Regions from separate parts of the Homo sapiens genome. Here region 1 is linked to region 2. The links are contacts of gene promoters, found by promoter capture Hi-C in human tissues and cell types (Jung and others, 2019). All regions are on one chromosome and are shown on one strand. The core of a region is centred on a gene start or on the middle of the fragment in contact, and the rest is flanking DNA. Distances in the headings are between cores, read along the strand shown. Region 1 overlaps LAMA1 (laminin subunit alpha 1). Region 2 holds the start of LAMA1 (laminin subunit alpha 1).

Evidence for each region. Contacts are between HindIII fragments. The study calls those that stand out against the background at their distance.
Region 1: a fragment that was not itself captured here is called in contact with the fragment with the promoter of LAMA1 in region 2 in 2 of the 25 tissues and cell types used here (mesendoderm cells and spleen).

The regions. Positions count from the first base shown.
Region 1 is chr18:7,029,600-7,034,681 of GRCh38, forward strand. It overlaps LAMA1 (laminin subunit alpha 1), which reads right to left. Exons shown (of 63, transcript NM_005559.4): 14 at 4,880-5,082; 15 at 3,385-3,496; 16 at 2,467-2,577. Among named protein-coding and RNA genes, the nearest start is that of LAMA1, 86 kb to the right of the region's middle. The HindIII fragment of the contact is 6,276 bases long and covers 1-4,834 here.
Region 2 is chr18:7,115,554-7,120,282 of GRCh38, forward strand. It overlaps LAMA1 (laminin subunit alpha 1), which reads right to left and starts at 2,244. Exons shown (of 63, transcript NM_005559.4): 1 at 2,107-2,244. The coding sequence starts at 2,167. The HindIII fragment of the contact is 17,081 bases long and covers 1-4,729 here.

The sequences.
Region 1 (5,082 bases), core at 447-2,946, 87 kb before region 2:
GCCCTTTACCTGACTGTCCCTGTTGGTGAATCTGGTATGTGAAGGAATGAGACTATTCCTCTCCTTGGGGAGGAAAAACATCTTTCGATTGAAAAAAGAAAGACATGAGGGCCCAAGACATGCACAATTTACTGTGATGCCATTCTCTTTTCTAAATCATGCCAAGCTGCAAGGAAAATACACAGACTTCTCCTTTGAATAAAGAGCTAAGAGAGCTCAGAGAGAAAAACAGGGGCTCTAAGAGCAACTGGAACCTCATCTCTAATGAACTGTGAATAAAGAATTAACTCCTGGAAGCTAGATAGTTATACGCAAGGCCCAGGGCTATGAACAACTACACAAAAGGAAGAATTCAAGCTTGTTTTTACAATATATTAGAAAAAAAAAAACCAGCAAGGTTAGATTTAACAGATATATGATGCTACCACGTTTTTTGTATTTCCTTAAATTCTAATTTAAATTTTTATTATTTTTGCCCTCTCAAACATTAATTAAGAAGGGAGAAATAGTAACTTCAGAGTGGAAAAACCTAGCAGACATCACCTAATTCAAGTGACCCAGATTAAGATCCCCAGGAAGAAGACACAATGATATCCTATCCATCTGCTCTCAATGAGAGGGCACGGCACCTCCACGTCTTCTGGTCAAAAATGTGTAACCTCAACCTAGTCATAAGAAAGCATCAGACAAGCCCTGGCTGGGGGACATTCCACAGAATGCTCAGTGCTCTTCAAAAGTGTCATAGTCATGAAGGACAAGGAAGTCTGAGGAACTTTCCTAGAGGAGAGGAGACTAAAAAGGCAAAGTCACTGAATGGTGTGGGGTCCTGGGTTCGATCCTACAAAAAAAAGGAGCATGAGTGAAAAACTGATGAAATCAGAATGTGGGGTGTAGTTCATCTTATCGTGCTACTTCTTCATTCTGATAACTCCACTCTAGTTATGCAAGATGGTAGCATTAGGGGATGCTGGGGGAAGGTTACTTCAGAACTCTCTGTACTTCTGTAACTCTTTCATAGCTCTTCTGTAAGTCTAAAATTATTTCCAAAACATGTTTAAAGCTATAAAATTATTATTTATTAAAATTAAAGCTTTAAGGCCAGTTGCTATTTAGCATTATCACTTTAATGTGAATATATATTTGTAAACATACATTAATGGAAGCATGAGAAATCTACTCTTTCAGCCTAGCTACAAAAGACATAAGTGGCAGAACCACAGCCTGCTGTACCCCCCACCCCACCCCACCCCAAATGCTGGCAGGAGGCCTTGCAAACCCAAATGGCAAAGGAAAGGAGGTGAAAAAAAAAGCAACCACCTCATCAAGCGGTTGGAAGCTGTGCACCTGAGGAAAGCAATCCTGGAGGGACTGAGTCTGCCCGTAAACCACCCCTTCATGCAATTCCTACAGAAGCTTTACTTACAGAACAAAGGGCAAAACAAAAGTTTTACTTACAGAATAAAGAAAAATTAAGTTCTAAGCCATCCTGGACATAAGCCATCCTGGACATCATTCTAAGATCTTCTCCCTGGGTCTGGTAATTAATTTTCCCTAACTCTGTGACTCAGTCAATCTCTTTTGGAAAAAGCATGAACATTTCCCTGCCAGGCGACCAGGGTACAGCTGATCAGCATATGCAGTCACTCCACCTCTGAGGATCAAACCCATGAGACCCCAGAGTGTGGCCTGGCTTCAGGGCATAGGGCCTAGAAGAATTCCTGATTGAAGTTAAGAAACAAGTCTTGCCCCACACCTGCCCCAAAGTTCATTCTCAAGATTAACTACCTATTTCTTAAGCCCTATTTCAACTCATATTGCATGAAAGAAGTACCTGTTTGATTAATTTATCCCAACTAACTATAAAGCATGGTATATAAGTGAGTGTGATTATACTTTATTCTTCTTCTTAGGGTATATTATGTAATATCATGATTTAAAAAAAATACTAGCATTGTCTGTGGCCTCAGCTACTTGGAGGGTTGAGGTGGGAGGACCATTTGAGCCCAGAAGATCCAGGGCTGCAGTAAGCAGTGTTGGTGCCACCACACTCCAGCCTGGGTGACAAGGTAAGACCCTGTCTCAAATAAATAAATAAATAAATATTAGCACTGTCATCTAAAGATCCTATGCTTTGTATTTAATAAGTAGACAACATTTTTTTACCTTTCTATTGCTTTATAGTCTCAGCAAATAAAAACAATTACTTTATATTAATCTAATAAAAAGAACTATAATGAAGTTGTATATCCCTTTTCCACTATTACCAAAGTAACTTTTTTCAAAAAAAAAACAAAAAAAAAAACGGGAAACATTTCATGACATGAGCTTAAATCTGTAAATTTTCTTTGGGGTCTATGAGGCTAGGGTTATTCCGTGGAGGAAGCACTTAAAAAAAAATCACTTGTACACAGCAAATGGCTCTGAATTGAGGAGGAGAGGGCACCTGAACTACAGTGAGAGACTCACAATGCAAACGCCGTGAACATTACACTCAGCTGCATGGCCGTGGCATTCACAGGGTTGACAAATTCCTCCAAAGAGTATTCCATCCACGCGGTAATAGCCAGAGAGGCACGACTGCAAGAGAAGGGAAAGTCATCCTCTTTCCACTACGTTACAAACAGAAACTGCTCAGTTGCCAGAGTACAGAAATGTCTTTTTTCTTAAACATCTTAACTGAGGTATCATTTACATGCTACACAATTCACCCATTTTAAGTGTACAATTCAATGACTTTTAGTAAAAACCTTACCGAGCTGTGCAACCATCACCATAATCCAGTTCCTTATTTCTTTTTAAAGGTAGAAACACACACACAAAAACGTAATGGTTGTGCAATGAGTCTTACGGCCTATTCTTGTTATGGTATTAATATCAATATGTTTGTCCAAGTGATTTCAAAATATTTTTAGCAACAGATTACTTTCATTGAGGATTCCAAGCGCATTTTCATATATTTCACATGTAAGGTGGAGCCCACCAAAGTAAAATAGCGAGGGGCCATAAAAGGTCTCAAAATAGGGCTGGCTTGTCTAAAGCTACCCAGGTCACATGCTGGTGATTTGTAAATGTTCAGATATGATCAAGTTCCATCCTCCTTAGAAACACAGTCAATGGCATGAGTATTGCAAGTTTCTTGTTGACTAAGGCAAGAGGGCAGCACTAAGTCAGAATATTGTCCGGTGCTCCAGCCCATTCCTGGTGGAGGAATCTGATTTTTTTAAACAATGTGACTTCTAATATTTCTATTGCCCAAAAAAGACTGAGCCAAACATTGGGCTGCTAAAGCTAAAAATCAAATGTTTGCCATGACATCCCCTTCAGTGCACTGTTTTCCCCTTAGGAAGGAACGAAAGGAAAAAGACAGGAAGAGAGAAGCGTCACCTCACAGGAGGTCCCTGTGTAGCCTTGCGGACATTCACAGTGCTCCACATCAGCGGCCACCACCAGGTCGATGGCATTAGAGCTGGCTATGTCCAGAGAGACGGACTCCAACCTACAAATAGACAGATTGTTATGTGACTCACACGCTCGCAAATACATCTCACATCTCAATGAAGATGGGCTCCTAAAAGATTTAAATCCGGCCGGGCGCAGTGGCTCACGCCTGTAATCCCAGCACTTTGGGAGGCCAAGGTGGGTGGATCACGAGGTCAAGAGATCGAGACCATCCTGGCTAATATGGTGAAACTATTAAAAATACAAAATTAGCCGGGCGTGGTGGCATGTGCCTGTAGTCCCAGCTACTCAGGAGGCTGAGGCAGGAGAATCGCTTGATCCTGGGAGGCAGAGCTTGCAGTGAGCTGAGATCACGCCACTGCACTCCAGCCTGGGTGATAGAGGGAGACTCTGTCTCAAAAAAAAAAAAAAAGACTTAAATCCAATAAAAGGGTGATGTGATTTTTGTAAATAACTAAAGGTCTTTCACAACAATATATTATCTGGGAGCCATCATTATTCCCTGGAAATGCCTTCAATGTTTGGTACAAAGTCATGCTGCTGCCCATAGATGACTGTGGGAAAGGTCTGGTGTTGCCTATTTGGAGTTGAAGCACCTCAGAAAAATTAATCCATTCAATTATCACAAATAGAAAGATTACCCTTAAATGTGTCATGCTATGTTTGTGTTAGATGCATACAACTTTTTTTTTTTGAGACAAAGTCTCGTTGTGCTGCCCCAGCTGGAGTGCAGTGCCTTAACCTCAGCTCACTGCAACGTGCACCTCCTGGGTTCAAATGATTCTCATGCCTCAGCCTCCTGAATAGCTGGGACTACAGGCATGCGCCACCATGCCTGGCTAATTTTTTGTATTTTTAGTAGAGATGGGGTTTCACCATGTTGGCCAGGCTGGTCTCAAACTCCTGACCTCATGCAATCCACCTGCCTCGGCCTCCCAAAGTGCTGGGATTACAGGTGTGAGCCACCATGCCCAGCCTAGCTGCATACAACTTTTATGCTTGGCACGGCATTGCCAGAAATTGTCCTCCCGAAAGTAATCAAATGACCAACGATGGATACGTTCACTTAAATGGACTGAGTAAAAGCTAAGACCATTAACATTAGGATGGTGAGAACCAGGTGCAACATGGTCCAGACAATCGCTAACTCATCGTGCATTTCCCAGAAACCCCCTTTGAAAGTTTCTCATCCTAATGTCAAGTCTGTCTTCTACTGGATACACTTGATGTGGATAACTGTTCTTACGTTTTCAATAAAATTACATTTATAAACTTAATAATTCTTAAGACAGCCAGATCCTGTAGCTGTGTCCTTAATATAATGAATGTAAAATACGTTGAGCTTTAAATATATATGAATAAACAAACATAAAATGGAAGTACCTTCACCGTAAGTTTTTCCTCCATTTTCAATACATACCTGTAAAGAGCCATTTTTGCAGAATTGTAGTTGGCTCTGATCAAAAGATGTGTCACATTGGCAAGGACAGTCATCAGCTGGTCACGATCAATCTGCCTTTTGCTGTGAAAATCTTGGAAGTTTTCAGGCACAAGTCTAACCACGTTTAGGTACTCTTCATAAGGCTGCAATGACAGACCCTCAGCCTGTGTGCTTAAAGTGAG
Region 2 (4,729 bases), core at 994-3,493:
TTAAAAAATAACACCAGACAACTAACTAGCAGGTGATTTGCAGGTCAGGATTATTGACCAAAACACACAACTTTACAAATCATTCATGCTATTCATGGGGCACAAAATCGTTTCTTAAAAAAAAAAAAAAAATCAGGCCGGGCGCGGCGGCTCACGCCTGCAAACCCAGCACTTTGGGAGGCCGAGGTGGGCTGATCACGAGGTCAGGAGTTTGAGACCAGCCTGGCCAATATGGTGAAACCCTGTCTCCACTAAAAATACAAAAAAAAAAAAAAAAAAATAGCCGGGCGTGGTGGCACGCGCCTGTAGTCCCAGCTACTCGGGAGGCTGAGGCAGAATTGTTTGAACCCGGGAGGCGGAGGTCGCAGTGAGCCGAGATGGTGCCACTCCACTCCTGCCTGCAGCCCGGAGACTGCAAAAAAAAAAAATCAAAACTGCTCAAGGAGGCTAGTTAGGAAGGGTGAGGGTTGGTGGGGTGCGGAAGGCAAAAAGGCAAACAGGGAATGCGATATGAAACATTAAAGGGCTCCTGCCCTGGGAGGTTTTCCGCAGCATCTCAAAGCAGGAAAGCCCCATGAGGTCCCACTTTCTCCAAAAACCACTCATAACCGCCAGGCCAAGTGCCGAGCCCCGAGGGGCCAGGACAACCTTCAGGCCATCTCCTCAGTCTAAGACTTTCAATTTCGGGGAACAATAAGCTGAGGCAAGCTGCTCTTTCTCTACCCTGTGGGAAACCGGGACTTGTTCACCTTCAGCAGCCTGATAGACAGGAGTCCCCTCGCAATCCTTTAAGGCTCCTCTCCCTCCCCAAAGGCTCCTTTCTTCTGGCTGATAACTATGTAAATTCCCTCTTCCCAGCCTGGCTCTGCGCAGCAGACTCGCAGCTATTCAATGCTGCGTTTCCAGCTCCGGTCCAGTGCTTCCATCATGAATGCTTGAATGAATGAGATGGTCGCGTTTCTGCAGAGCTCACAACTCAGCACAATGCCCAAACACACGTTTCCCACGAGGGCACTGCAAATTCCGCCCACTACTTTTGACTCGAATTTTTTTTTAATGAAGTTTATATTCGTGGGAATACGCCCATTGTCATGTGCTGCATACATTAAGATGTTTTCAACAAATATTTGTGACTGCCTAGCCAACACGAAGCCACGCTGCGAAGACAGCTCTAGGGGTGGCGTGGGTGACTAGGGTTGTCCCCCAAAAGGGAAAAGAATTCTTTCTTTCTTTTTCTTTCTTTCTCTCTCTTTCTTTTCTCTTTCTCTCTCTCTTTCTTTCTTCTCTCTCTCTCTCTTTCCGCCCGCCCGCAAAAACAGAAAATGAAAATTCGCTCTGAGTTTCTCTTCTCAATCCTTGCAACGCGCATGCAAGGTGCTCCCTTCTCCGCTGGTCCCTCGCCCCGGCGCGCCCACGGTCAATCCCGCGCAGTGAATGAGCGGGTTTGGCCACTTCGCCTATTGCACAAAAAGCGCGGGTCGGGAAGGCGCATCAGTGCCCTGGACGCCGCCTGCGGGTCCCCCTGCCCGGGACGGCTGGCTAGGGGCGCCCTTCTCGCCGCGTCTCTCCCCACTAGCCCGCTTGGCTGCCAGGGGCCCCGAGGAATCCGCCCTTTCCCGGCCGCCGCGACCCAGCTTGCGCAGCCGGACAATGAGGGCGACTCGGGAGAGCTCTTTCTCCATTCATCCCCCGCGCCCGGCCAACAGCCCCGCCACCCCCGCCCGCGCAGCCGGGGCACTAAAAGCAACCCCCGGCGCCCCGCTCCGGGCGCCCCGCTCCCGCCACCCCCAGCACTGCTCGCGTAGATGGCGCTCCTGGGTCGCGAAGTCCCGCAAAAGCCAGAGGCGAGGCTGGGCTTTAACCCCAAAGCCCGAGGAGGTTAAAGCCTAAGCCTGCAAAGAGCGGGCAGCGTCCGGCAGGAGCGGCGTCCCCATCCAGCCCTCCCCGGCAAGCGCGGGAGACCCACGTGGCCGAGACACCCACTCCGAGGTGGATCAGGATGCGCGCCCGGACTCCAGCAGCCCCAACGCGACGGGCTTTGTCCGCGGCCGCCCCCGCCCGCCCGCCTGCGGGGGACAGGGACCCTAGGACCCGGGCCGGGCTCACCTCTCTGCCGGCACTGCGCGGCGACACACAGCAGCAAGACCAGGAGCACGCCCCCGCGCATCTCGCCTCCGCCGCCACTCGGTGGGTCTGGGGAGAAAGCCGCGCGCCCGCCTGGAACGCTCCACGGGACGCGAGTCCGCGCTGCCCTGGCCCCGCCGCTCCTGGAGTCCTGCCGCCCCTCCCTCCAGCCGCCCTCGGACACACCCCTCGGCTGCGCCCCGCCCCGCCCCGTCCCGCCCCGGCTTGGCCCCGCCACCCAGACCCCTCCCCCGGGGGCGCCCAGCTTGGCCTCTGGGTCCCGGCGCACGCGGACCCCAAGTCGGGGAGGCCGGGCTGACCGCGGCCGCCTCCCCGGCTCCGGGTAGGAGGTGGGCAGAGAAGGTGGGCTGAGGGGAGGAGAAACTGGGCTGCGGGGGTCCGGGAGGGTGGATTCCGAGAAACTATGTGCCCAGCTGACCCTGCCCGCCCCGCCGCGGCCCTGCAGTCCCCGGGCCAGGACCCACGCGCCCCTGCCAGGAGCTGGGCGAGAGGCGACCCCTCGGGAAGCCACCCAGGCTCGGCCGACCCGCCGCCCTTTCCGCCGTGGGCAGAGGACTTGAGGATTTTTTCTGAAAATGAGTTGCAACTTGTTCCCGACTTTGTTTGCCTAAAGAAGGCAAGGTCACTTGGACTTAATTATTATAATTAGATACCCTTACTGCTGGAGAGAGAGGACGCGCTCCTGACACGCAACTTCAACTGCTGTTATTATAATTATTATTATTTTAAAACTATGTCTGGTCCCCGATAAAGAATTTTTAATTTCCTCTGATTTTTTTTTTCTATCAAAAGTATTGGATGGGTGCAGTGGCTCACGCCTGTAATTCCAGCACTTTGGGAGGCCGAGGCGGGTGGATCACTTGAGGTCAGGAGTTCGAAACCAGCCTGGCCATCATGGTGAAACCTCGTCTCTACTAAAAACATACAAAAATTAGCTGGGTGTGGTGGCACGCGCTTGCAGTCCCAGCTACTTGGGAGGCTGAGGCAGGAGAATTGCTTGAACCCGGGAGTGGGAGGTTGCAGTGAGCTGAGATCACACCAGCTGCACTCCAGCCTGGGCGACAGAGCGAGACTCTGTCTCAAAAAAGAAAAAAAAGGTATTCATAACACTTTGTAGATTTCACATTTTCTCAATATAAATATACAGGGACAATATCTCATTATCATCCCACCATCTTATTTTGCAGGGTTTTTTTTTCTTGATAGGAAGATAATTTCCTCTCACTTGTGTGAATCTATTTGACAACTCTATCAATTCCTGTTTTTCTGAGGACACTTCCTTACACATCTAGTGAGTAGAACTTAGTTATAGTACTTAGCCATCGATTAATTTTTAAAAATCATGGAACAAAATGATAGTTTGGCCGTTTTAAAAGGATGCAATATAGTTCAGTGAATACTCCATACAGTACTAAATTTAAAATGCAGACGTTCGTAACTATTAAAATGTTACTAAGTAATTATTAAATAAGTAAACTTAGTATTTAATAAATGATCAAATATTATAGTATTAGGCACATAGCTATTAAAATGCAGAATTATAAGCATTTATGCACTGAAATAACTGCACACACAGACCTAGCATTCATATAGATTATCTTTTGGGATCTTCACAACTCTATGAGATGCTTGCCAGGAGATAAGGAAGTGAGTTCTCAGTGTCAGCAAATGTCTGGTCTAGAGCTAGACCCCATGTCTGGTTTCTAGTCCATAGTCCTTTACAACACCACGCTGAAATCACAGAGGATGTTGATCAAAAGCAAACTTGGAGGTGGTGGCTAACGCCTGTAATCCCAGCACTTTGGGAGGCCGAGGCGGGTGGATCACCTGAGGTCAGGAGATCGAGACCATCCTGGCTAACGCGGTGAAACCCCGTCTCCACTAAAAATACAAAAAATTAGCCGGGGGGCGGTGGCAGGCGCCTGTAGTCCCAGCTACTCGGGAGGCTGAGACAGGAGAATGGTGTGAACCCGGGAGGCGGAGCTTGCAGTGAGCCAGGATAGCGCCACTGCACCCCCGCCTGGGCGACAGAGCAAGACTCCGTCTCAAAAAAAAAAAAAAAAAAAACCACACTGGAGGAATCACAAGGGGTGTCCCCATATTCTGGGTCTCCCCATATCCTGGGTTCCTAGAAATTCAGGCAGGAGGTCAATGGGACCTTATCTTTGAACTGCAAGCAGGGATCTCACGTGTGTAATTTCAAGGGAGGCAAGTGGTCAGCACCTCTGGGGAGTGAATAGGAAGCATCAAAAGTTACAAATTGGCACTATTTATCACTGCTCAAAATTAAGCAGAAAAGATTTCAATGAAAAGAATTCAGAACAAACTTGGATAAAATGCAGCAGTAAAAATGTCATAATTCTACACATCTTCTAAAAACCCTGCAGTACAAATTTTTCCAATCTTTAGCATGCTTGGAAAATATCTAAATTACCTAGAGCCCTATGAAAGTGCAGGGCTGGCTTGTTCAAGTTGAAAATGAGTATAACAAGAATGTTCACATTTTGTGAGAAAGTAAAAATTCAACTCAACTGGACACAAAAAGATCCTTGCTTCAAAGTCACCTATAAATAATGAACAATTG